Linked DNA regions of Homo sapiens: all the other regions are linked to region 7. Evidence: promoter capture Hi-C in 16 types of primary human blood cells and fetal thymus (Javierre and others, 2016). All regions are on one chromosome and are shown on one strand. Each heading gives the region's core, a stretch centred on a gene start or on the middle of the fragment in contact. The rest is flanking DNA. Distances are from core to core; before and after follow the strand shown. Region 1 overlaps NUP153 (nucleoporin 153). Region 2 overlaps NUP153-AS1 (NUP153 antisense RNA 1). Region 3 overlaps NUP153 (nucleoporin 153). Region 4 overlaps NUP153 (nucleoporin 153). Region 5 has its middle 44 kb from the start of NUP153-AS1. Region 6 overlaps NUP153 (nucleoporin 153). Region 7 holds the start of NHLRC1 (NHL repeat containing E3 ubiquitin protein ligase 1).

Evidence for each region. Contacts are between HindIII fragments. The CHiCAGO score rates a contact against its expected background, and 5 or more counts as called.
Region 1: a contact is called between a fragment that was not itself captured here and the fragment with the promoter of NHLRC1 in region 7, in 1 of 17 cell types (neutrophils). The highest score is 9.6, in neutrophils.
Region 2: a fragment that was not itself captured here is called in contact with the fragment with the promoter of NHLRC1 in region 7 in 1 of 17 cell types (neutrophils); the score reaches 5.9 in neutrophils.
Region 3: a fragment that was not itself captured here is called in contact with the fragment with the promoter of NHLRC1 in region 7 in 5 of 17 cell types (naive B cells, neutrophils, monocytes and 2 more); the score reaches 7.2 in naive B cells.
Region 4: a fragment that was not itself captured here is called in contact with the fragment with the promoter of NHLRC1 in region 7 in 4 of 17 cell types (monocytes, neutrophils, megakaryocytes and 1 more); the score reaches 7.9 in monocytes.
Region 5: a fragment that was not itself captured here is called in contact with the fragment with the promoter of NHLRC1 in region 7 in 1 of 17 cell types (neutrophils); the score reaches 5.4 in neutrophils.
Region 6: a fragment that was not itself captured here is called in contact with the fragment with the promoter of NHLRC1 in region 7 in 1 of 17 cell types (neutrophils); the score reaches 6.9 in neutrophils.

Annotation. Positions count from the first base shown.
Region 1 is chr6:17,689,954-17,692,878 of GRCh38, reverse strand. All of the region lies in intron 1 of NUP153 (nucleoporin 153), which reads left to right. Among named protein-coding and RNA genes, the nearest start is that of NUP153, 16 kb to the left of the region's middle. The HindIII fragment of the contact is 2,345 bases long and covers 205-2,549 here.
Region 2 is chr6:17,709,861-17,712,839 of GRCh38, reverse strand. NUP153-AS1 (NUP153 antisense RNA 1) reads right to left here. Exons shown (of 3, transcript NR_134618.1): 3 at 1,813-2,051. Among named protein-coding and RNA genes, the nearest start is that of NUP153-AS1, 4.3 kb to the right of the region's middle. The HindIII fragment of the contact is 2,783 bases long and covers 256-2,979 here.
Region 3 is chr6:17,670,371-17,673,102 of GRCh38, reverse strand. The region is part of intron 5 of NUP153 (nucleoporin 153); the gene reads left to right. Among named protein-coding and RNA genes, the nearest start is that of NUP153, 35 kb to the left of the region's middle. The HindIII fragment of the contact is 674 bases long and covers 994-1,667 here.
Region 4 is chr6:17,653,953-17,656,687 of GRCh38, reverse strand. All of the region lies in intron 11 of NUP153 (nucleoporin 153), which reads left to right. Among named protein-coding and RNA genes, the nearest start is that of NUP153, 52 kb to the left of the region's middle. The HindIII fragment of the contact is 2,465 bases long and covers 31-2,495 here.
Region 5 is chr6:17,749,194-17,751,893 of GRCh38, reverse strand. No RefSeq gene overlaps it. Among named protein-coding and RNA genes, the nearest start is that of NUP153-AS1, 44 kb to the right of the region's middle. The HindIII fragment of the contact is 2,861 bases long and covers 1-2,700 here.
Region 6 is chr6:17,621,560-17,624,555 of GRCh38, reverse strand. The region is part of intron 20 of NUP153 (nucleoporin 153); the gene reads left to right. Among named protein-coding and RNA genes, the nearest start is that of FAM8A1, 23 kb to the right of the region's middle. The HindIII fragment of the contact is 4,037 bases long and covers 1-2,996 here.
Region 7 is chr6:18,121,427-18,124,163 of GRCh38, reverse strand. It overlaps NHLRC1 (NHL repeat containing E3 ubiquitin protein ligase 1), which reads left to right and starts at 1,487. Exons shown (of 1, transcript NM_198586.3): 1 at 1,487-2,737. The coding sequence starts at 1,558. The HindIII fragment of the contact is 6,107 bases long and covers 1-2,183 here.

The sequences.
Region 1 (2,925 bases), core at 128-2,627, 430 kb after region 7:
TGGAGGGGCTTCTCTAAAATGTATCTTAATTTCCTGAAATGTATCTGATTTCCAATATTAGAATCACTTCAGAGGGCTTGATAAAACAGGTGGGACCTACCTCTGGAGATTATCCTACTAAGGGCTGGAGAAGGACCTGGGATGATGCTGATAATACTGCTAAAAAGGGATCACACTTTGAGGACCACTCAATTATATTAAGCTTAATTTAACTTTTTCTTAATGACTTAGGGTCATTTAACCTACAAAGGTATATTAGGGTATTGAAACACAAGGATGTTTGTTCCTTCATACTGGTTCCAGGTCCATTTTATTATTTTCCTTCCTTCTTCCCATCCTCCCTCCTTTCTTTTTGTCTTTTTGTTTTTAGAAACAGGGTCTCTGTCACCCAGGCAGGAGCGCAGTGGTACAATCATAGCTGACTGCAACCTTGAATTCCTAGGCTCAAGTGATTCTCCTGTCTCAGCCTCCCAAGTAGCTAAGACTACAGGCCTGTGCCACAGTTCTAGCTAATATAGCCTGCATTCCTTTTTACTCCTCATGCTGTCATTCACTGTGCCACTAGTAATGTCTCTGTCTCACTGTTCCTCTATTAAGCTCTTCTGGGCTGAGACTAGTTAAGTTGGTTAAATTTTAGTATAGAAAATCGGTCTGTAATCTAAGTTCATGTATTTTAGTGAGTGAGCTTTATTATATCCACTTTGACCAGTTATGTTTTCCAGTTGTTTTTGAAGATACCTAATGTTGCCACATGAGGGATCTATGAGTGAGGGTGGAGCCAATTTAAAGTTGTTCTATACTTGCCTTCCAGATGGATAGGGATCACAGGAATCTCTGATACGTTTAGTAGCTAAACACCTTACTTGAAGTCCCCCAAAAAATTTTTAAATCTACATTAAATTCTAGAATTGCTATAGCTGGATGTGGTAGTCGGCCTGTAGTCCTGGCTACTTGGAAGGCTGAGATGAGAGCCCAGGAGTTTGAGGCTGCAGTGGGCCATGATCACGTGCCATTGCACTCTACCTGGTATGACACAGGTCTCTGGAAAAAAAAAAATTCTTGCTATAGTGCTTTAGCTAGCCTGTCACCTATATCAAGTATGTCTTTGTTTTTAAGTCTTTTTTTGTTTTTCTGAGCTGGAGTCTCGCTGTGTCACCCAGGCTGGAGTGCAATGGCCCGTCTGCCTCCCACGTTCAAGCGATTCTCCTGCCTCAGCCTCTCTAGTAACTGGGATTACAGGCATGCACCATCATGCCTGGCTAATTTTTGTATTTTTAGTAGATACGGGGTTTTGCCATGTTGGCCAGGCTGGTCTCCAGCTCCTGGCCTCAAGTGATCCACCAGACTCGGCCTCCCAAAGTGCTGAGATTACAGGCATGAGCCACCACGCCCAGCCTTAAGTCTGTCTTAAACTGTATTATAGCTTTTAAACACTTTCAAGTCTTGAAGTATGGAAATGGGATAAGTAACTAGTATTAGGTGTGTTTTTACAAATATTAAATATTGGATATAGGTATATAGGCTTTCTTTCCATAGTAACTAATACTGTGTAATATTAGCAAAGAAAAAGGGAACAGTGAATTGGTGTTGTTCAGTAGTTAGTGTTCTAGAACTTGGCTTCATGTGTTTGATAGAGAGCTTACTTGTAGATCTATTGAAAATTTGCACAATACATGGAAGAATAATTACATGCTTCCCAGTTGCTACCTATACCTTTCCTTTTTTTTTCTTGAGACGGAGTCTCGCTTTTGCTCTGTTGCCCAGGCTGGAGTGCAATGGCGTGATCTTAGCTCACTGCAACCTCCATCTGCCAGTTCCAAGCAATTTTCCTGCCTCAGCCTCCTGAGTAGCTGGGATTACAGATGCACACCACCACACCCGGCTAATTTTTTTTTGTATTTTTAGGAGAGGCGGGGTTTCATCATATTGGTCAGGCTGGTCTTGAACTCCTGATCTCATGATCCACCCACCTCGGCCTCCCAAAGTGCTGGGATTACAGGCGTGAGCCACCACGCCCGGCTACCTTTTCACATAGTAAGGAAATTACTATTCAAGTGCCTGTATCAGAAATGTCTTCCATTTTTTTTGTTGGCAGGATATTTTAAGGCCTCTGTCTTGAGTTTCCCTTCTAGGTAGATTTATATATTCTGCCTTGATTTTATTGTTTTCTGTACCTACTGAGTCATTTTTTTCCTTTCTTTGACTCTTTCTTTGAAATCCTACTAAATCTGCTTCGTGAAATAAATTGTTGCCTAAAATCGGTTACCTTACCCCAGTTTATTGCCAGCTTTTTTCCTTGTTAGTAAAAAAGTTTTCAGTATGTTTCTGTTATACCTTGTAAATTGATACATGCCTTCACATTATTTCATTTGATTTTCATTATAATTACTATAAATAATAGGAGGCAGTGTTATTTTACCTAGAGTAAATCAAAGTACAGGGAGGTCCTCCAATTTTACCCTAGGTCCTGGCAATCCCAAAGCCCATACTTTTTTTTTTGAGACGGAGTCTCGCTCTGTCGCCCAGGAGATCTTGGCTCACTGCAAGCTTTCTCAAGCAATTATTTTACTGCACATTCGGCTCACTGCAAGCTACGCCACCCGGGTTCACGCCATTCTCCTGCCTCAGCCTCCCGAGTAGCTGGGACTACATGCGCCCGCCACCACGCCTGGCTAATTTTTTGTATTTTTAGTAGAGACGCGGTTTCACTGTGTTAGCCAGGATGGTCTCAATCTCCTGACCTCGTGATCCACTTACCTCAGCCTCCCAAAGTGCTGAGATTACAGGCATGAGCCCAAAGCCCATACTTTTACTCTGTCTTAGATATACTGTGGTAGTTGTGTTTCTACTTTGGGCAAGTTATTTAACTTCATTGTTTGTCTTATCCATAAGGTGGGGATATTAGTTCATAAAGTTATGGTGAGG
Region 2 (2,979 bases), core at 398-2,897, 410 kb after region 7:
AGAGCTGCTTTATTCTAACAAGCTCCCGGGGGCTGCAGCTGGTGCTTGCTGGTCAGAGTAGCAGCAAGAGGCCAAAAGTCACTGTTTGTTTAAACTGGGTAGTTCATGCTTGTCTGATGGTGGTGGGGTGATATGTATGTGAGGGTTGTTTGCATGTTAACTGGTTTGCATGCTTTTGAAAAGGAATGCCTTAATAAGTTAGGGTCTGATAAACTTGAGCATTCTCTACAAATGCTTTTAAAAAATAAAGAAGCTTAGTATTAGCAAACTAAGGTTTGCAAAGGTTATAGTTTTACAGACTGCAACCTTAATAAGTCCAGTTTCGTAATGTAACTGATGAATTATGTTAATAAATAAAACTAAACCAATTGATTTCTTTTTTTTCTTTTTTCTTTTTTTTTGAGATGGAGTCTCGCTCTGTCGCCCAGGCTGGAGTGCAGTGGCATGATCTCCGCTCACTGAAAGCTCCGCCTCCCAGGTTCATGCCATTCTCCTGCCTCAGCCTCCCGAGTAGCTGGGATTACAGGCGCCCACCACCGCGCCCGGCTAATTTTTTTTTTTTGTATTTTTAGTAGAGACGGTGGTTTCACCATGTTAGCCAGGATGGTCTTGATCTCCTGACCTCGTGATCCGCCTGCCTTGGCCTCCCAAAGTGCTGAGATTACAGGCATGAGCCACCGTGCCCGCCCCTGATTTCTTGTATGAGATAGATTCAACAGCATGTGTTTAGAATTTACGTGTAGGTTTTTTTTTTTTTTTTTGAGACAGAGTCTGGCTCAGTTGCCCAGGCTGCAGTACCGTAGCATGATCTCGGCTCACTGCAACCTCTGCCTCCCAAGTTCAAGCGATTCTTCTGTCTCAGCCTCCCAAGTAGCTGGGATTACAGGCATGTGCCACCACACTCGGCTAATTTTTTAATTTTTTTAGTAGAGACGGGGTTTTGCCACGTTGGCCAGGCTGGTCTCAAACTCCTGACCTCGGGTGATCCGCACATCTTGGCCTCCCAAACTGCTGGATTACTGGTGTGAGCCACTGTGCCTGGCTTGAGTGTAGCATTTTTAAGGTGAATTATCAGTGTTAAGTGCTAATGATTAATAGATTATAAAATAGTAAACTTTAGTATAACTCAATAAAATGGTAAAGTGTAGCATAATATGTAGACAGAGATTGTTTTACAGTTTTGTATACTGACATACTAAATGCCAAGACTAGAAACCAACACATAAATATCTCAATAAATATTTGTGTTTTAATGAATTAATCTCAGTTAATTCATTAACTGTCTTAAATGTTAGGATGGGATTGCCTTCCTAAATTTGGTTATTATTTCATCCAATAAAACTGAGTTTCCATTCAAGATTGAATTTAAAATATGCCTTAAACTATAATGTAATGTACATAAACACATATATACCAAAGTCTAGTATACATTGATACATGTAGTCAGGAAGAGGAAATATATGGCATGTTGGAATCAAGTGATATATGTAGTTAATCAAAATTTGCTCATATTAGTTAATTTAGTCTTAAATATTACTTTATTCCCAATAGAGAGAGAACACAGTAAGTTAATGAGAATACAATGATTTACATCCTTAAATATCTTTCCGTTGTGTGGCCCTTCTTTCCCTAAAATACAAGCAAACAGGCAATAAATAAATAAATAAATAATAAATAAACCCAATAGCTTCATTTTCTTTATTTTTTTCTTTAGAGATGGGGTCTCACTCTGTTACCTAGGCTGGACTGCAGTGGTGAGATCATAGCTCGCTGCAGCCTTAGACTCCTGGGCTCAAGTGATCCTCCTGCCTCAGCCTCCCTAGTAGCTGGGACTACAGGTGCACACCACTAAGCTCAACTAATTTTTTCATTTCTTTGTAGAGAAGGGGTCTCGTTATGTTGCCCAGGCTGGTTTCAATCTCCTGGCCTCAAGTGATCCTCCTGCCTTGGCTTCCCAAAGTGCTGAGATTATGGGTGTGAGCCACATGCCTGACCAGGAATACACTTTAAAATAATAAAGTATGGTAGCAACAGGAAATGGCAAGGAGTGCCTGTTAAAAAAAAAAAAAAGGTATAGTAAATACATAAACCAGAAACAGCCACTTATCATTATGAAGTATTCTGTACTGTACATAATTGTACATACTCCACTTTTACACAAATGGCAACACAGTAGGTTTGTTTATACCAGCATCACCACAAACACGTGAGTAATGTGTTGCAATAAGACCTTAGGACAAAGACAGTATCACCAGGCAATACGAATTTTTCAGCTCTTTATGGGACCACCATTGTATATTGGGCCCATTGTTGATTGAAACATTGTTATGCTGTGCATGAGTGTGATAATTTGTTTTAATAGACATCACAGCAGATACCTCATTTTGTTTTGGTAAGGTGGAATAACTACATAAAATTTCGTAACTTCTTGTACTTGTCATCTTTAAACATTCTTTTGGCCAGAATTGTATTAGTACCTTCTGAAGAATGTATGATGGCTCTTTTTCAATCTAGGTTGGGTTTAGACTAAATTGTATTTCACTTTTAATTAGTGGATACTCCTTATCTATTAGAGATGGGTCAGCAGCCTATTTGCTAATTTATAATTGGCAGCTGGTTACATATATATATATACATATATATATATATTTGTTGTTTTAATTTTTTAATTTTTTTGATATGGAGTCTCACTCTGTGGCCCAGGCTGGAGTGCAGTGGCATGATCTCAGTTCACTGCAACCTCCACCTCCATGGTTCAAGCGATTCTCCTGCCTCAGCTTCCCGAGTGGCTGGGACTACAGGTGAGCACCACCACGCCCAGCTAATTTTTTTTTTTTTTTTTTTAAGTGGAGACAGGTTTCACCATGTTGGCCAGGCTGGTCTCGAACTCCTGACCTCCAGTGATCCACCCGCCTTGGCCTCCCAGAGTGCTGGGATTACAGGTGTGAGCCACTGTGCTCGGCCACTTTCTACTATATT
Region 3 (2,732 bases), core at 81-2,580, 450 kb after region 7:
GCCACCGCGCCCAGCCAGAAGTTTTACTTTTGATGACATCTTTTGTGTGTGTGTGTGCGTGTGTGTGTATTCTTAATGGTTTCATGCTTTTGGTGTCGTATCTGAGATATTTTTACTATTATAATCCCATGTCACAAAGATTTTGTCTTATGTTTTCTTCTACAAGTTTTATAGTTTTAGGTTTTAATTTATGCCTATGATTCATTTTGAGTAGATTTTTGTGTGTGGTATGAGGTATTGGTCAAGGTTCATTTTATTTTCTAAATTAAAAAGTTTTTTTAAAAAATGAAAGGTAGGAGTCTTACTACGTTGCTCAGGCTGATCCTGAACTGCTGGGCTCAAGCAATCCTCCTGCCTCAGCCTCCCAAAGTTCTGAGATTACAGGTGTGCCTGGCCAAGGTTTTTTGTTTTTTGTTTTTTGTTTTTTTAACATATGGGTGTGCAATTGTTCTAGTGTTATTTGTTAAAAAGACTGTTCTTTGTTCATTGAATAGCTTTTGCACCGTCTTTGTTCTGTGTTTTTGTTTGAGACAGGGCCTTGCTCTGTCACACAGGTTGGAGTGCAGTGGCACGATCATGGCTCACTGCAACCAGAACCTCCTGGGCTCAAGTGATCCTCCCACTTTAGCCTCCTGAGTAGCTGGGACCACAGGCGTGTGCCACCATTCCCAGCTAAATTTTTTTTTTGGTAGTGACAGGGTCTCACTAAGTTGCCTAGGCTGGTGTTGTACTCCTGGGCTCAAGCGATCCTCCTGTGTTGGCTTCCCAAAGTGTTCGGATTACAAGCATGAACCACCAGGCCTGGCCTGCACCTTTGTTGAAATCCAGTTCACATGGCTTTATTTCTGGACTTTTGACCATCCCTCCCCCGACCCACCCATTGATCTGTGTGTCTTTCCTTTTGCCAACTGCACTGTCTTGATTGCCATAGGCTTCCCGGTAGGTCTTAAAATTAGGTGATGTGAGTAGTCCAATTTTGTTCTTTTTCAAGCTTGTTTTGGCTTTTTTAGGTCCTTTGCTTTTCTATAAAAATCTAAAATTGGCTTGTTTCTACAGTCTGCTAGGATTTTGATTGGAATTGCTTTTTTTATTTTTTAGATGGGATCTTGCTCTGTTGCCCAAGCTGAAGTGCTGTGGCATGATCTTGGTTCACTGCAACCTCCACCTCCCAGGTTCACACAATTTTCCTGCCTCAGCCTCCCAAGTAGCTGGGACTACAGGCACACACCACCATGCCCCACTAATTTTTGTATTTTTAGTAGAGACAGGGTTTTACCATGTTGGCCAGGCTGGTCTCGAACTCCTGACCTCAGGTGATCCGCCCACCTTGGCCTCCCAAAAGTGCTGGTATTATAGGTATGAGCCAGCATGCCCAGCCATGATTGAGATTGCATTTGAGTCTAAAGACCAATTTGGGGAGAATAGGCATCTTAACAAAATTGAGTCTTCCAAACCATGAACATGGTATATCTTCCCATTTAGGTGGTTTATAAATTTTTTTCATCAGTGTTTTGTAGTGTTCAGCATACAGATCTCGAACATATTTTGTTAGACTTATTTGTTAGACTTTTGTTATTTGGTATTAGTCAAGAATATGTAGCCTGAATAACTTTTATCTTTTCAGTGAATTGAGTTCATAATTTAAAATACGTTCCAGCAAAGAAGCTTCAGGCTCAGATAGCTTCCCTGGTGAATCCTACCAAACATTTAAGAAAGAAATAATACCAATTCTACACAAACTCTTATGTATAGTAGGAGAGTAGGGAACACTTCCCAGTACCTTTTATGAGGCCAACATTATTACCCCGAGACCAAAATCAGACAAAGACATTAGAAGACAGCAACAGACTATTATTTCTCATGAATTATAGACACAAACCTCAACAAAAATATTTGTAAATGGAATCCAACAAATTTAAAAAGGAAACTGCATCATGATCAAGTGGGGTTTATCCTGGGAAGGCAAGGTTGACTCAACATATGAAAATTAATGGGATTAGACCAGGTGTGGTGGCTCATGCCTGTAATCCCAGCACTTTGGAAGGCCTTAGATCACCTGAGGTCAGGAGTTCGAGACCAGCCTGGCCAACATGGTGAAACCCTATCTCTACTAAAAATACAAAAATTAGCCGGTTGCAGTTGGACGTGCCTGTAATCCCAGCTACTCGGGAGGCTGAGGCAGGAGAATCATTTGAACCTGGGAGGCGGAGGTTGCAGTGAGCCGAGATTGTGCCACCGCACTCCAGCCTGGGCAACAGACTGAGACTCTGTCTAAAAAAAAATAAAAAATAAAAAATTAATGGGATTTACCATGTAAACAATCTAAAGAGTACTATATGAACATCTCTATAGATACATAAAATATTTTTTAAAAATCCAACATTTAGTCATGATAAAAATTTTTGAACAAACCTAGGTATAGTTGAGATCCTTCTACCTGATAAAGTGCATTTACAAAAAAATCATCTGGCAACATACTTAATGGTATGAGGAAGCAAGCAAGGATGTCTGCTATCACTGCTACTGTTTAACATCATACTGCAGGTGCTAGCCAGTGCAGTAGGCACAGAAATCAATGCATGCAGATTGGAAAGGGTATTATTCCTGTAATATTTTTACTGTACACAGATAACATGCTTATCTACGTAGAAAAATCCAAAGAAAATACAAAAAAAGCCACCACAACTAATAAGCGAGTTTAACAGGGTCACAGGATACAAGGTCAATATACA
Region 4 (2,735 bases), core at 14-2,513, 470 kb after region 7:
GTCTTCCTTGTTGGTTATCTAAGTAAAGCTTTCCTTTCTTCAAAAACCTGGTGCCCCCTAAGTTTGGAGGTTTGCTTGAGCCCAGGAGTTTGAGATTAGCCTGAGCAACATGGCAAAACCCCACGTGTACAAAAAAATAACAAAAATTAACCAGGCATGGTGGTTAGCGCCTGTGGTCCCAGCTACCAGGGAGGCTGAAGTGGGAGGATCACCCCAGCTGGGGAGACTCTGTCTTTAAAAAAATAACAAATAAAAAAAACTCCTCTTCACTCATGTTTGTATCACCTCCTCCCCTCTTTGGGCCTCTTCTCTTCATTCTGGCCAACTGCCAATTTTGTGTCACAGGATTCTTCACCCAGTCCTTCCCATCACTGGCTCTGTTCCACCCTGAAGTTATAATGTCCACATTTCTGAGGAAAGAGGTACTAATGTGATGTTGGCCCCACACTTTCTGCCCACCTTGTGGTTTGTTTGTTTATTTATTTGTCAGAGTCTTGCTCTGTCTCCCAGGGTGGAGTGCAGTGGCGCAATCTTGGCTCACTGCAACCTCCACCTCCTGAGTTCAAGCAATTCTCCTGCCTCAGCCTCCTGAGTAGCTGGGATTACAAGCGTACGCCACCATGCCCAGCTAAATTTTGTATTGTTAGTAGAGATGGGGTTTCACCATGTTGGCCAGGCTGGTCTCAAACTCCTGACCTCAAGAGATCCACCCACCTTGGCCTCCCAAAGGGCTGGGATTGCAGGGTTGAACCACTGCGCCCAGCCCTACCTTGTGTTTTATATCTGTATAGAATAGGTTTGGATACACAATTATATAGTTGTTTTGAATGCAGTGCTGCTTGTTTGCATCAGAAGTCAGATATGTTGAGACCACAAATTGTTTCTTTCTTCAGTTATAATTAGTGGGAATTTTTGGTAAAAAATTAAAAGATTGGCTGGTCACGGTGGCTCACACCTGTAATCCCAGTACTTTGGGAAGGCTGAGGCCGGCAGATCACCTGAGGTCAGGAGCTCGAGACCAGCCTGGCCAACATGGTGAAACCCCGTCTCTACTAAAAACACAAAAATTAGCCGGGTGTGATGGCGGGCACATGTAATCCCAGCTACTCGGGAAGCTGAGGCAGAAGAATCGCTTGAACCTGGGAGGGGGAGGTTGCAGTGAGCTGAGATCGTACCACTGCACTCCTGCCTGGGTGACAGATTGAGACTTTGTCTTAAAAAAAAAAAAAGTAATAATAAGATTAAAGTTATTTTTGTGGGGGCGGCATTTTCATGGGCCTTTGGAAGAGTGACATGGAAGAGATTTAGTTTTAATGAAATGTAAACACATTATGCTAACTGATTTCAGATAGTGTTGCTATTTAGCAGGAATGGATGTATTCTGATCCATTAAATTCAGGTTAATAGAACTCTATATGTAAAATTACCCATTTGGAATGATCTTTTACCTTTCACCTTATCCTGGATTCTAAAATGTGCAAGGATTGTAGTCATTAAATATATTGGCCTTTTGCTTTTACTGTCCTACCAATCAATCCATGAGTTTTTTTGTGTGTGTTGTTAAAAAGCTCATTGATACAAAACATGTAGCAGTATACAAAACATGTAGCAGTATATAAGAAGACTTGAGTTTGGAGAGACTTAATTGCTTGCTCTTGTCTTGTATAATCCTGCCACTTACTAGCTGGGTGACCTTGGTCAAATTAACCTCTTGTGTACCTCCTCAGTTTTTTTATCTGTAAAATGGAAATAAGAATAAATATTGTGTTCATGTCTGTAAGATTTCTGCCACTTAATAGCTGTATGGTATTATGCCATATATCTCCCTGCCTTACTTTCTTCATATGTAACAATAGTATCTACCTCATATGAGATAACCCATGTAAGGATATTACAAAGGTATTAGATAGTGAATTGTGAAATGTGTGTTCTACTTGAGATGTCTCTAAGCATCAAGTTAGCAGAATTCTTGGCTTTTTTTTCCTCTTAGATTAGTGGGACCCACTTATGATCTACTAAGTCAAAATTTGGGGGAGTAGAAATCAAATGATAGAATTGGTTCAAGGTCAGCTGGGCGCGGTGGTTCATGCCTGTAATCGCAGCACTTTCGGAGGCCGAGGTGGGCGGATCACGAGGTCAGGAATTCGAGACCAGCCTGGCCAACATGGTGAAACCCTGTCTGTACTAAAAATACAAAAATTAGCTGGGCGTAGTGGCAGGTGCCTGTAGTCCCAGATACTTGGGAGGCTGAGGCAGGAGAATCGGTTGAAACCAGAAGGCAGAGGTTGCAGTGAGCCAAGATCGCACCACTGCAGTCCGGCCCGGGCAACAAGATCGAAACTCCGTCTCAAAAAAAAAAAAAATTGGTTCAAGGTCAGTAATATAAGGAACCAGTGTGGACAAGTGTGTGCCTTAAGGAGTTGGCATGAGAGAGTAGATTATATAGTTGATGTTTTTAGGGTTCTACGCTGGAGGTTGGACAGAGAAGAGAAGCTTCCCTACAAAAATAGCCAGATGCATCTTTTGTTTGTTCCTCCTCCCTCAGTTGATTATGACAAATTTCAAACATGAAATGTTGAAAGAACTGTGCAGCGTATACACACAGTAGCAGTTAGATTCCAACATTTTGTGTTACATTTGCTTTATCAAAAAAGAAAAATTTACCTGTCCATCTTTTTTTATTTTTTGGTGCATTTTAAAGATAGTTGAAGACATTAGTACACTTCACCCCCAAA
Region 5 (2,700 bases), core at 33-2,532, 370 kb after region 7:
AGCCCTGATTTTTTTTTTTTTTTTCTAAGAGATGGAGTCTCAAGCCAGGCACAGTGACTTACGCCTGTAATCCCAGCACTTTGGAGGCGGAGGTGGGTGGATCACTTGAGGTCAGGAGTTTGAGACCAGCCTGGCCAACATAATGAAACCCTATCTCTACTAAAAACACAAAAATTAGCCAGGTGGGGTGGCCCACGCCTGTAATCCCAGCTACTCGGGAGGCTGAGGTGAGAAAATCACTTGAACCCGGGAGGCAGAGGTTGCTGTGAGCCAAGATGGTACCACTGCACTCCAGCCTGGGCAGCAGAGTAAGATTCTGTCTCAAAAAAATATATAAAAAATATTTCCACTGCATTGCTATTTATTAAATGTAAGGGATTTAATATGCATTGCTCACATAATCATTCCAACAGCCCTGTGAGGTAGACACTGTCATTAACCCCATTTTACAGATGCGGAAATTGTGTCTCAAAGGGGTTAAGGATCTGTCAGGATTACAGAGTATCACTTAATATGAGCTTACAAAAAAACAACAACAAGGCCGGGCACCGTGGTTCACGCCTGTAATCCCAGCACTTTGGGAGCACGAGGTCAGGAGATCGAGACCATCCTGGCTAACACGGTGAAACCCCATCTCTACTAAAAAATACAAAAAATTAGCCAGGCATGGTGGTGGGCGCCTGTAGTCCCAGCTACTTGGGAGGCTGAGGCGAGAGAATGGCATGAACCCGGAAGGCAGAGCTTGCAGTGAGCCGAGATCGTGCCACTGCACTCCAGCCTGGGTGACAGAGCAAGACTCCATCTCAAAAAACAACAACAACAGAAGATCACAAAGGGCCAGGCACGGTGGCTCACACCTGTAATCCCAGCACTTTGGGAAGCCGAGATCAGGAGTTCATAACCAGCCTGGCCAACATGGTGAAACCCCATCTCTACGAAAAATACAAAAATTAGCTGGGTGTGGTGGCACACGCCTGTAATCCCAGCTACTCAGGAGGCTGAGGCAGGAGAATCGCTTAAACCCAGGAGGTGGAGGTTGCAGTAAGCCTAGATCGTGCCACTGCACTCCAGCCTGGGCAACAGAGTGAGACTGTCAAAAAAAAAAAAAAAAAAAAAAAAAAAGATCACAAAGACCAGAAAGGGAAGGAGCTAGGCTTCAAATCCAGGAAAACTGTCTGCATAAGAATCTGTCAGTCTCAGCCGGGCGCGGTGGCTCATGCCTGTAATCCCAGCACTTTGGGAGGCCGAGGTGGGTGGATCATTGAGGTCAGGAGTTCAAGACAAGCCTGGCTAACATTTTGAAACCCCATCTCTACTAAAGATAGAAAACTTAGGCGGGGCGTGTAGCTCACACCTGTAATCCCAGCACTTTGGGAGGCCAAGGCGGGCGGATCATGAAGTTAGGAGATTGAGACCATCCTGGCCAACGTGGTGAAACCCCATCTCTACTAAAAATACAAAAAAATTAGCTGGGCTTGGTGGCACAAGCCTGTAGTCCCAGCTACTCGGGAGGCTAAGGCAGGAGAAGCACTTGAACCCGGGAGTTGAAGGTTGCAGTGAGCTGACATTGCGTCACTGCACTCCAGCCTGGCAACAGAGTGAGACTCTGCCTCAAAATAAATAAATAAATAAATAAGCCGGGCGCGGTGGCTCACGCCTGTAATCCCAGCACTTTGGAAGGCCGAGGCGGGGGATCACGAGGTCAGGAGATCGAGACCATCCTGGCTAACACGGTGAAATCCCGTCTCCAGTAAAAATACAAAAAATTAGCTGGGCGTGGTTGTGGGCACCTGTAGTCCCAGGTACTTGGGAGGCTGAAGCAGGAGAATGGCGTGAACCCGGGAGGCAGAGCTTGTAGTGAGCTGAGATTGCGCCACTGCCCTCCAGCCTGGGCGACAGAGCGAGACTCCGTCTCAAAAAAAAAAAAATACAAAAATACAAAAATTAGCCAGGCGTGGTGATGGGCGCCTGTAGTCCCAGCTTCTCGGGAGGCAGAAGCAGAAGAATCGCTTGAACCCAGGAGGCGGAGATTGCAGTGAGCCAGGATCACGCCACTGCACTCCAGCCTGGGTGACAGAGCGAGACTCTGTCTCAAAAAAAAAAAAAAAAGTCAGTCTCAAAATCTTGTTCAGAAGAACTGCATAGAACTGTACAGTGGCTGCCACAGTTATACTTGACTTAGTTTTGAATTTTCAGCAGAAAAGGAAAAACTGCAGGAGTGGCATTCCTCCTTTCTGGGCAGCTCTGATACTTTGCTGTTTGTTTCCCCCTTATCTGGTGATCTCCAGCCTTTAAGGTGATAAAATGTAGCTCTTGACTAAAGATTGGGGCATCCCTGACACAGATTCAGTATATAGACAGGAAAGATCATTCTTTTTTTTTGAGACACAGCTTCACTCTGTTGCCCAGGCTGGAGTGCAGTGGCACGATCTTGGCTCACTACAACCTCCACCTCTTGTGTTCAAGCGATTCTCATGCCGCAGCCTCCCAAGTAGCTGGGATTACAGACGTGTGTCACCATGCCAGGCTAATTTTTTGTATTTTTAGTAGACACAGGGTTTCACCATTTGGGCCAGGTTAGTCTTCAACTCCTGGGCTCAAGTGATCCACCCGCCTCGGCCTCCCAAAGCGCTGGGATTACAGGCGTGAGCCACTGCGCCCAGCCAGGTGAGATCATTCTTTAAAACACACACAAACTTG
Region 6 (2,996 bases), core at 403-2,902, 500 kb after region 7:
TGTGCTGTGATGCTGTTAGTATCTGTATGGGTTTTGTGTGTCTTAAAATATTTTCCTTTGAGCTTGGAAACCATTCATATGTCTAATTTTAAAATTATCTCTTGTACTTGGCAGAATAGAGAGGTAATATGGTTGGATTTATATATAAACAACATTCGCAGGTTTCACAGACTTGTAACTTTTTTAAGGTAGTAATGTATTTTAAAGTGTTAATTTTTACTCTGACTTAAGTATGGGATTCATTCACTCTCATTTCTTCTCAACTTTGAATTTTTGGGCTTGCAAGGCTAGCTTTGAAGTGCATTTTCTGATCCTGTTTATGATTGGATTTGCGTTAGGAAGTTACCCCCAGGTCCAGTGCTCTCTCCTGGGGCAGTCCCGCTGAGTTGTCTCATGACACTTTCTATTTACTGATGATACCAGCCTTTCCATTTGAACTGCATATTTAAATATGACTAATCAAATTGTATTATAATCCTATATTTTCTTAAAATTGTTGTTGATTTTTTTCTAATTGTGAAATATAATATTATGTAGAAAGGGGTGTAAAATATAAGTGAACAGTGTAATATTGAAGCAAATGCTGTATAACAACCACCTGGAAGCCCCTCATGTATCTCTTTTTGAAAACACTCCTCTCTTTCTCCACTCTAATGATGACCACCGCCTTGTCTTTTATGGTAATCACTGTTCTTTGGGTTTTATTACTGCATTTATTGGCTAATAGATGCATCCCTAGAAAATGTAGTTTTGCCTGCTTTTATATAAATGGAATATTACTGCATGCAGTCTTTTGATTTGTGATTGTTTTGCTCTAAGGCTTGTAAGGGTCATCCATGTTTTGCATATAGTTTGTTTATTGTCATTGCCATAGAGTAAATCATTGTATGAATATACTGCAGTTTATTTACTGTTGACATATGTTTCAGTTGTTTTTAACTACTAGGAAATGCTACTCTGTACATTCTTGTATATGTACCTTGGTGCACATATGTATGTTTTTCTAGAGTATATACAGTGGCATGGGATTGCTGAATTAAAAGGTTTGTATATCTTATACTAGAAGATAATAAAAACTTTTCCTGATGGATTCTGCCAATTCATATCCTACCACCATTGTATGAGTTCTTATATGTGGGTTCTATTTGATTTCTCATGTGTGTAAATTGTTTTAAAAGGTTTTTTTTTTTTTTTTTTTGGCCATTTTTCAGTTTGGCTTTTGCGTGTAAGTTTGTAGAGGTTCTTTATGTATTCTGGATATTGGTACTTTGTCAGCTAATGTACATACCAAAATTTCTCCTGTTTTCTGATATACATTAACCATTTTGATCAGGATTTTTTCCTCTAATATGAAATTGGAAAGTTTCTATTTCTTTCACACAGGTAACATTTTCCTCTGTTGTCATCGTCTTTTTTTTTTTTTTTTGAGACAGAATCTCACTGTGTCGCCCATGCTGGAGTGCAGTGGCTTGATCTCCGCTCACTGCAACCTCCGCTTCCCGGGTTCAAGTGATTCTTCTGCCTCAGCCTCCCAAGTAGCTGGGACTACAGGCACGTGCCACCACACCTGGCTGATTTTTTATATTTTTAGTAGAGATGGGGTTTCACCGTGTTAGCCAGGGTGGTCTTGATCTCCTGACCTCATGATCCACCCACCTCGGCCTCCCACAGTGCTGGGATTACAGGTGTGAGCCACCACGCCCAGCCTTTATCTGCTTAATATAGAGACACTGTAAGGTTAGATCAGGATTCTGATTATGGAAATGCTGATTATTGCTGAGCCATATGGTATACTATAACTTTCTATCCTATACAAAATTTGTTTCTCTGACATTATTGACTTCCTCTCTTTATTTTTTTTTTATGTAAAGAGCAATCAATTTTATAAACTAAATACAAAGAAAAAGTCAATTTTAGGAGATCTTTCTTCCAGTTAAAGAATTGAGAAAAGGCTACAGAGGCCCTAAAAATTAGAGTCACACTGTTGTTGAAACTTGGGGAAAGACAGCATTTTAGGGTTGAGGTTCTCAGTTCTATAACAAGGTAGACCTGGATAGTAAAGATGTTAGAAAATCCTTTTTTAAATTTTTTGAGACAGGGTCTCACCTTGCCGCACAAACTGGAGTACAGTGGTGGAATCTCGGCTCACTACTGCCTCAACCTGCTGGGCTCAAGCCATCCTCCTGCCTGAGCCTGCCAAGAAACTGGGACTACAGGCAGACACCACCACTACACCCATCTGTTTCATTTTTGGAGGGGGGCGTGGTTTGTAGAGACAGGGTTTTGCCATGTTATCCAGGCTGGTCTCTAACTCCCGAGCTCAAGCAGTCCACCCACCTCAGCCTCCTAAAGTGCTAGGATTACAGGCGTGAGCTACTGTGCCCAGCCAAGATGTTAGAAAACTCTTGACTCTGGGTAGCAGCATAACTGTCCAAAAAAACACAAAACAAAACAAAAGAAAAGCCATGCTACAAAGTCTAGTGAAGGTCATTCCCACAGAAAACACAAAGCATTAATTTTTGTCATACATAGAAATATAGTTTTAGTAATAATCCAAAAGCATTTTTGATAAAAATGAAAAACTTTAAAAAAATATTTTAAAGTTTTTCATTTTTAAAAACTGATGTGTTATTTTGTTACATACATACAATGTGTAATAAATTAGGGCATTTAGGATATCCATCACCTTGAACATTCATCATTTCTTTGTGTTGGGAACATTTCAGAACTTCTAGCTATTTTGAAATGTACAATAAATTATTGTTAACTCTACTGTGCTCTCAAATACTAGAATTTATTCCTTCTATCTAGCTATATGTTTGTATTCGTTAACCACCTTCCCTTCCTACCACCACCCCAACGAAGCCTCTGAACCATCATTTGTTCTCTACCTTTATGAGATCAACTTGTTTTTTAGCTCCTACACATGAGTGAGAACATTGAATATGTGTCTTTGTGCCTGGCTTATTTCACCTAACATAATGTCCTTCAGTGCC
Region 7 (2,737 bases), core at 238-2,737:
CCAACATATGGCAAATTCTCTTTGTTTTTGGTCTTAACTGAGATTGGAAAAACTGAACTTAGTGTCATTTGAGGGAATTATTATAATGCAGTGTTTCTCAAACTTGGCTGTACATTATAATCACCTGGGGAGCTTTTATAAATCCCAGCTGTCCAGACCACACCATGGGCCAATTAAACTTTTCGGGTGCGACCCAGGTGTTTACCATGTGCAAAGAAGTTTGAAAATGACTAAAATAGGTAACTCTGAAGTCAAACTGCCTGGCTTCAAATTCCAGGCCAGCCACTTCCTAGCCATGTGACCCTGGGCAAGATATTTGATTTCTATGAATTCTATCAGAAAAAAAGACAATAAAAATAACATATTTTTGTAGGATTGCTATGAGGTTTAAACAAGATAATCTATGTAAATTATTTATTAATTTGCTGCAAAAGTAATCACGGTTTTGCCATTAAAAGTGATGGCAAACACTGCGAATCCTTTTCACCAACCTAACACAATGGGGCAGGCATATGTGAATTCCATAGGCTGGGCACAGTGGCTCACACCAGCACTTTGGGAGGCCAAGGGGTGGGGAGGAATGTGAACAATTTTCACAAGTTCAAGACCAGCCTAGGCAACATAGTGAGACCTCCTCTCTACAAAAAAATTAAAAAATTAGCCTAGTGTGATGGTGCATGCCTGTAGTCCCAGCTACTGAAGTGGGAGGATTGCTTGAGCCTGGGAGATGGAGGCTGCAGTGAGCTGTGATCGTGCCCCTGCACTCCAGCCTGGGTGACAGAGTGAGACTTTGTCTTAAAAAACAAAAAAATGAAGTTCTATGGTAATTATTATTAACTAACAGCTTTCTTATTTCATATTAATTACTCTGCAAGACACTTCCAGCATGGTTGCCCCATCTGACACTCATTCACCTCGTTGATTTTTTTTTGTTGTTGTTGTTGTTCTATAACATTCATTCATGCACAAATTCATTTTACAAGTATGTATTCATCTAACATTGACTTAACTATGAGTATGACAGAAGACACAAAAGAAATGTACACATCTGCCTCACCTCCCTTGGAGTTTATCTTCTCTAGTGTGTTCGTGTTTTCCGGTTCAGATCATAAGCATCATGAGCTAAGGGACCATGTTTTATGCCCGGACAGCCGTAGCACCCGGCGCTGCGGATTGGAGACACTGCTAGGCACCCGGGCTGGAAGATTGGGTTCTAGTTCTTGTTTTGCCGCTTACAGGCTGGGTGACAGGGAGCAATCCTGTTGTCCTCAATAGGTGTGTTTCCTCATCTGAAAGTGTACACAATCCATCCATGACTGCTGTGACGATTACAGGTCTACACAACGCGCATGTGGATTTGTCTTGCAAACGTCCACCATCAGGCCCTCAGGAAACAGTGCCGCGCGTGCCCACCAAGGGGCAGCAGATCGCAGTGCAGAGGCCCGCGGCGCTCGACGTCAGGGCGCACGTCCCACCCCGTGACCATGACTGTGACCGTGACCGAGAGCGTCGCTGGGGCACGGCCAGGCGGCGCGGCGGGAGTGCACAGGACGCGCCATGGCGGCCGAAGCCTCGGAGAGCGGGCCAGCGCTGCATGAGCTCATGCGCGAGGCGGAGATCAGCCTGCTCGAGTGCAAGGTGTGCTTTGAGAAGTTTGGCCACCGGCAGCAGCGGCGCCCGCGCAACCTGTCCTGCGGCCACGTGGTCTGCCTGGCCTGCGTGGCCGCCCTGGCGCACCCGCGCACTCTGGCCCTCGAGTGCCCATTCTGCAGGCGAGCTTGCCGGGGCTGCGACACCAGCGACTGCCTGCCGGTGCTGCACCTCATAGAGCTCCTGGGCTCAGCGCTTCGCCAGTCCCCGGCCGCCCATCGCGCCGCCCCCAGCGCCCCCGGAGCCCTCACCTGCCACCACACCTTCGGCGGCTGGGGGACCCTGGTCAACCCCACCGGACTGGCGCTTTGTCCCAAGACGGGGCGTGTCGTGGTGGTGCACGACGGCAGGAGGCGTGTCAAGATTTTTGACTCAGGGGGAGGATGCGCGCATCAGTTTGGAGAGAAGGGGGACGCTGCCCAAGACATTAGGTACCCTGTGGATGTCACCATCACCAACGACTGCCATGTGGTTGTCACTGACGCCGGCGATCGCTCCATCAAAGTGTTTGATTTTTTTGGCCAGATCAAGCTTGTCATTGGAGGCCAATTCTCCTTACCTTGGGGTGTGGAGACCACCCCTCAGAATGGGATTGTGGTAACTGATGCGGAGGCAGGGTCCCTGCACCTCCTGGACGTCGACTTCGCGGAAGGGGTCCTTCGGAGAACTGAAAGGTTGCAAGCTCATCTGTGCAATCCCCGAGGGGTGGCAGTGTCTTGGCTCACCGGGGCCATTGCGGTCCTGGAGCACCCCCTGGCCCTGGGGACTGGGGTTTGCAGCACCAGGGTGAAAGTGTTTAGCTCAAGTATGCAGCTTGTCGGCCAAGTGGATACCTTTGGGCTGAGCCTCTACTTTCCCTCCAAAATAACTGCCTCCGCTGTGACCTTTGATCACCAGGGAAATGTGATTGTTGCAGATACATCTGGTCCAGCTATCCTTTGCTTAGGAAAACCTGAGGAGTTTCCAGTACCGAAGCCCATGGTCACTCATGGTCTTTCGCATCCTGTGGCTCTTACCTTCACCAAGGAGAATTCTCTTCTTGTGCTGGACACAGCATCTCATTCTATAAAAGTCTATAAAGTTGACT